Regions from separate parts of the Homo sapiens genome. Here region 1 is linked to region 2. Evidence: promoter capture Hi-C in human tissues and cell types (Jung and others, 2019). All regions are on one chromosome and are shown on one strand. Each heading gives the region's core, a stretch centred on a gene start or on the middle of the fragment in contact. The rest is flanking DNA. Distances are from core to core; before and after follow the strand shown. Region 1 has its middle 53 kb from the start of ZNF648. Region 2 holds the start of ZNF648 (zinc finger protein 648).

Region 1 (3,431 bases), core at 799-3,298, 54 kb after region 2:
TTTCACTGGTCTGTGTGTCTATTTTTATGCCAGTACCATACTATTTTGGTGACTATAGTCTTGTAGTGTAGTTTGAAGTCAGGTAATGTGATGCCTCCAGATTTGTTCTTTTTACTTAATCTTCCTTTGGCTATGCAGGTTCTCTTTTGGTTCCATATGAATTTTAGGATGTTTTTCTAATTCTGTGAAGAATGATGATGGTATTTTGATAGGAATTGTTTTAAATTTGTATATTCCTTTTGGCAGTATGGTCATTTTCATCATATTGATTCTATCCATCCATGAGCATGGGATGTTTTTCCATTGGTTTGTGTCATCTGTGATTTCTTTCAGCAGTGTTTTGTAGTTTTCCTTGTAGAGGTATTTCACCTCCTTGGTTAGGCATATTTCTAGGTTGGTTTTTTTTTCAGCTATTATTAAAGGGGTGACTTTTGTATTTGATTCTCAGCTTGGTTACTGTTGGTGCATAGCAGAACTACTGATTTGTGTACATTAATTTTTTATCCCGAAATTTTGCTAAATTCATTTATCAGTTCTAAGAGCTTTTTGGAGGAGTCTTTATGATTTTCTAGGTATATGAGCATATCATCCACAGACAGCAACAGTTTGACTTCCTCTTCACCAATTTGGATGCCCTTTATTTTTTTCTCTTGTCTGATTGCTCTCGCTAGGACTTCTAATACTATGTTGATTAGAAGTAGTGAGAGTGGGCGTCCTTATTCCAGTTCTCGGGAGGAGTGCTTTCAACTTTATTCAGTGTTATGTCAGCTGTGGGTTTGTCATAAATGGCTTTTATTACATTAAGATATGTCCCTTCTATGCCAATTTTGCTGAGGGTTTTAATCATAAAGGGATGCTGGGTTTTGTCAAATGCTTTTTTTTGCATCTATTGAGATGATAATGTGATTTTTGTTTTTAATTCTGTTTATGTGGTGTATCACATTTATTGACTTGCATATGTTAAACCATCCCTGAATCCCTGGTATGAAACCCACTTGATCATGTTGGATTATCTTTTAGATATGCTGTTGGATTCAATTCACTAGTATTTTGTTAAGGATTTTTGCATCTATATTCATTAGGGATAGTGGCCTGTAGTTTTCTTTTTCTGTTATGTCCTTTCCTGGTTTTGGTATCAGGGTGATACTGGCTTCATAGAATAATTTAGGGAGTATTCCCTCTTTATCTTGTGGAATAGTGTCAATAGGATTGGTACCAACTATTCTTTGAACATCAGACAGAATTCAGCACCAGCTGTGAATCCATCTGGTCCTGGACTTTGTGTGTGTGTGTGTGTGTGCGGCAATTTTTAAATTACCATTTCAGTCTTGCTGCTTGTTATTGGTGTGGTCAGAGTTTCTATTTCTTGCTGGCTTAATCTAGGAGGGTTGTGTATTTCCAGGAATTTATGTATCTCCTCTAGGTTTTCTAGTTTATACACATAAAGGTGTTCATGGTAGCCTTGAATGATCTATTTCTGTGGTATCAGTTGTGATATCTCCTGTTTTGTTTCTAATTGAGCTTATTTGGATCCTCGCTCTTCTTTTCTTGGTTAATCTCACTAATGGTCTATCAATTTTATTTATCTTTCCAAAGAACAAGCTTTTTGTTTCATTCGTTTTTTGTATTTTTTGTTTGTTTATTTCAGTTTCATTTAGTTCTGCTCTGATCTTTGTTATTTCTTTTCTTCTGCTGTGTTTTGGTTTGGTTTGTTCTTGTTTCTCCAGTTTCTTGAGGTGTGACCTTAGATTGTCTATTTGTGCTCTTTTAGACTTTTTGATGTAGGCACTTAAAAATATAAACTTTCCTCTTAGCACTGCCTTTGCCATTTCCCAGAGGTTTTGATAGGATGTGTCACTATTATCTTTCAGTTCAAAGAATTTTCAAATTTCCATCTTGATTTCATTTTTGATCCAATGATCATTTAGGAGCAGGTTATCTAATTTCCATATATTTGCTGGTTTTTAGGGTTCCTTTTAGAGATAATTTCCATTTTTATTCCACTGTGGTCTGAGAGAGTACTTGGTAGAATTTTCTTATATTTATTGAGACTTGTTTTGTGGCCTATCATGTGGTCTATTTTGGAGAATGTTTCATGTGCTAATGAATAGAATGTATATTCTGCAGTTGTTAGGTAGAATGTTCTGTAAATATCTATTAAGTGCATTTGCTCTAGGGTATAGTTTATTTTTATTTTATTTTAATTTTTTTATTTTTTTTGAGTCGGAGTCTCACTCTGTCACCCAGGCTGGAGTACAGTGGTGTGATCTTGGCTCACTGCAACTCCGCCTCCCATGTTCAAGCAATTCTCCTGTCTCAGCCTCCTGAATAGCTAGGATTACAGGCATGCACCACCATGCCCAGCAAATTTTAGTATCTTTAGTAGAGACAGGATTTCACCATGTTGACCAGGCTGGTCTCGAACTCCTGACCTCAAATGATCCACCCTCCTTGGCCTCCCAAAGTGCTGGGATTGCAGGTGTGTGAGCCGCTGTGCCCGGCCTGTTCTAATGTATAGTTTAAGTCCATTGTTTCTTTGTTGACTTTCTGTCTTGATGACCTGTCTAGTGCTGTCAGTGGAGTACTGAAATCCCCACTATTATTGTGTTGCCATCTATCTCATTTCTTAGGTCTAGTAGTAATTGTTTTATAAATTTGGGAGCACCAGTGTTAGGTGCATATAAATTTAGGATTGTGATATTTTCCTGTTGAACTACAAATTTTGTCATTATATAATGTCCCTTTTTGTCTTTTTAAACTGTTGTTGCTTTAATGTTCCTTTTTTCTGATATAAGAATAGCTACTTCTGCTTGGTTTTGGTGTCCATTTTCATGGAATATTTTTTTTTCACTCCTTTAAGTTTTTGTGAGTCTTTATTTGTTAGGTGAGTCTCTTGAAGATAGCACATACATGGTTAGTGAATTCTTATCCATTCTGCCATTCTGTGTCTTTTAAGTGGAGCATTTAGGCCATTTACTTTCCATGTTAATATTGAGATGTGAGGTACTTTTCTATTCATCATGCTAGTTGTTGTCTGAATACCTTGTTTTGTTTTCATTTTATTATTGTTTTATAGGCCCTGTAAGATTTATGCTTTAAGGAGGTTCTATTTTGGTGTATTTCAAGGATTTATTTCAAGACTTAGAGCTCCTTTTAGCAGTTCTTGTAGTATGGGCTTAGTAGTGGTGAATTCTCTCAGCATTTGTTTTTCTGAAAAAGACTGTATCTTTCCTTTATTTATGAAGCTTAGTTTCACTGTATACAACATTCTTGGCTGATAATTGTTTTGTTTAAGGAGGCCAAAGATAGGACCCCAATCCCTTCTAGCTTGTAGGGTTTCTCTTGAGAAATCTCCTGTTAATCTGATAGGTCTTCCTTTATAGGTTACCTGATGCTTTTGCCTGAAAGCTCTTAAGATTCTTTCCTTCATC
Region 2 (3,153 bases), core at 505-3,004:
GCTCAACATTACTGATCATTAGAGAAATGCAAATTAAAACCACAATGAGATACCATCTCATGCCAGTCAGAATGGCGATTATCAAAAAGTCAAGAAACAACAGATGCTGGCGAGGTTGCGAAGAAATAGCAACGTTTTTACGCTGTTGGTGGGAATGTAAATTAGTTCAACCATTGTGGAAGACAGTATAGCGATTCCTCAAAGATTTAGAACCAGAAATACCATTTGATCCACAATCCCATTACTGGGAATATACCCAAAGGAATATAAATAATTCTATTATAAAGATACATGCATGCATATGTTCAATGCCGCACTATTCACAATAGCAGACTTGGAATCAACCCAAATGCCCATCAATGATAGACTGGATAAAGAAAATGTGGTATATATACACCATGGAATACCATGCAGCCATAAAAAGGAACAGGATCATATCCTTTGCAGGGACAGGGATGGAGCTGGAGGCATTATCCTCAGCAAACTGGCAAAGGAACAGAAAACCAAACACCGCATGTTCTCACTTATAAATGGGAGCTGAACAGTGAGAACACATGGACACAGGGAGGGGAACAACACATATTGGGGCCAGTTGGGGGAGTGCGGGGTGGAGAGAGCATCAGGAAAAATAGCTAATGCATGCCGGGCTTAATACCTAGGTGAAGGAAGGGTTGATAGGTGCAGCAAACCAGCATGGCACATGTTTACCTATGTAACAAACCTGCATATCCTGCACATGTATCCCGGAACTTAAAATTTTTAAAAATCGTCAATAATAACAATGAAAGCAGCTAACGTTTTTGGGTACTTGCTATGTTCCAAACACCGAACTAAGCTCCTTACATGCATTATCTCATTTAATACTCCCCAAACTTCCATGATGGCAATAGTATCCTGGTCCCTGTTTTGCAGATGAGACACTAAGGCACACAGAGGTTAAATAACTTGCCCAAGATCACACAGCTAGTAAGTAGTAAGATTCAAACCCAGACCCAGACCGTGCTGTCAATCAGTATACTTTGTGACCACCTAGTGACATCACAGGAACCACACTTCCATCACCTATTTTAATGCCCTGAATGTTCATCCTAATAAATGCACATTAGACTTGAGTGGGTAAAAATTCTGAATGTACTGAGTCTTCTACCTTGGGCCAATCCTTCTCTTCAAAATGAACCTGCATGGGAATCAATGCTGAAAGTGGAAAGAGACCCCAGACAGGCCTGGCATCTGTATGCATAAGACAGAAAACCATCTCCCTGCACCCCTACTCCCAGTTAAAAGGCTGTGGGCATCTTTGAGCCAATGAATGGGCTGCTACAAAGAATTCTGGGAATCCCAACCCCTCACAGTTCTGCAACTCACAGTCCTGCAAAAGGTGGGTACTAGAATAGGGAGGTGGGCATATAGGCCAAATACTCTGTTCTGCCTTCCAGGAGGGAAAAAGCATGCTACCCAGGAAGCTCACAAGTGACATGTGGCCCATGGGCATACCAGGGCTAAAGTGAAGGATGGACTGCTCTGTGGAAGGAAGGAGTGAAAGTGAACAAGAGGCATAGGGCCACCTGCAGGAAGACTGAGAGGAGGGAAGGAGGAAGGCTGGCTTTGGCAGGGAGGGGAGGCAGGAGCAGAGGGAGCCAGAGGATCGGTTCAGGCAGTGAGAGAGGGCAGCCCCACTCTATTTCCCAGGCTGCTCTCTGGATGCAGGCAGGAAGGTTGAGTGTATTACACTGGCCCCACCTCCAGAGGCTCTCTCTGCAGCCGCTGGACTGGACACAAAGCGTGAGAGACAGAGACACCATCTCTGCTGATTTGTACCTAACTGGTTCCTGTTGCTGAGAGCCCACGTGTCACAGAAGCCAGGGCAGAGGCCCCACACTGCTGTCTGCATTTCCCAGGTAAGCAACCGTCTGTGTGTGAGCCAGGAGTGGAGAGCAAGGCCTGAAGGCGGTGAGCAGAGAAGAAAGTAGGAGGCGGCTGCCTAGGATGGACTTCAGTACAATCTGGAAAGAATGAAGGAAAGAAGAGGGGTATGGGCTGGGGTTGCAACAAGCCCTTAGGGTAGGCTTCTGCAGAGTGTTGATGGATGTATGAGGTTGGGGAGTCAAAGGCTGCATTTGGTCCACTCTTGGCTGGCAAGTGCAGAGGAAGTTCCAGCAAAGGACTGCTCTGACAGCCTCTGGGGACTAGCACATCTGGGGAGCAGAGAGGCCCGCCATACCATGGCATCAGTGTTCCTCTTTCAGACCAGGTATATTTGTGCAGACTTTGCCAGAAAATCCCTCCCTGTGCCCCTGCCTGCCTCCAGGTCTTCCTGGTGGTCGAGAGCATGCGTGTGGCAGCGACAGGAGGAAGAAAGCAGGACATATTCACTGGGGATATGGCTTCAGATGGAGGAGGGATACCTCATCTGAAAAGAGAGTCTCCTGACGGGCTCTGGAGAGGAGATTGGTTAGCTAGTGGAGGGCTGTGTGCCACCCTAAGGAGGCTCCCCTGTGGCCCAGAGGAAAAGAATGACACACAGACTGTGGAAAATGGGGTATTTGTGCTGGAGGTGGGGTGGGGAGCGGGTAAAGTCAGTGATCTGTGAACAGTGCCACAGAAACAGGCAGTATGTTGTCGTAAAGAGGGAAAGAGACCTAAGACATGTGTTTCATACAAATCCAGCATCCCTTTGCTGTCCCTGCTGGGGGACCTACAGCCCCGGATCAAGCCTGCTGGTCTGAGCAAGTTCTATGAGGTTGGCTAGTGGTATGTCCCCTCTATGAACTACACATTCACTCCCTAAGATCCACTATGCTGAAAATATGTCAGATCTGGGCTCCTGTCAAAAGGCATGCCAGCTACCCTCTGCCATGTGATGGGTGAGGGAAGCAGTGAGAGAAGAGGAGTGGTCCCTGGGCTTTAGGGCACAAAGAGACGTGAGATGCTGAATTCCAGTCACAACTGCAATGTGTCCTCCCTCCATCCATGGCTTCTGTATCCAGAGCAGAAAGTGAGGATTCCTCCATACTGCTCCCTCTTCATACACACAGGGTAACTGGGCTCATGATCAGGCAGAAACCAGGGAAGAACAGTTTAATGAGATGGGGATAGGGTTAACTGTACCAGCCAAATACAAAGATCACTCCTTTTATCCAGTCTGAGATGGCA

Evidence for each region. The method cuts DNA at HindIII sites, captures the fragments that hold promoters and counts their contacts. A contact is called where the count stands out against the background at its distance.
Region 1: a contact is called between a fragment that was not itself captured here and the fragment with the promoter of ZNF648 in region 2, in 1 of the 25 tissues and cell types used here (small bowel).

What each region holds. Positions count from the first base shown.
Region 1 is chr1:182,006,601-182,010,031 of GRCh38, reverse strand. No RefSeq gene overlaps it. Among named protein-coding and RNA genes, the nearest start is that of ZNF648, 53 kb to the left of the region's middle. The HindIII fragment of the contact is 4,816 bases long and covers 1-3,431 here.
Region 2 is chr1:182,060,313-182,063,465 of GRCh38, reverse strand. It overlaps ZNF648 (zinc finger protein 648), which reads left to right and starts at 1,754. Exons shown (of 2, transcript NM_001009992.1): 1 at 1,754-1,898. The HindIII fragment of the contact is 24,066 bases long and covers 1-3,153 here.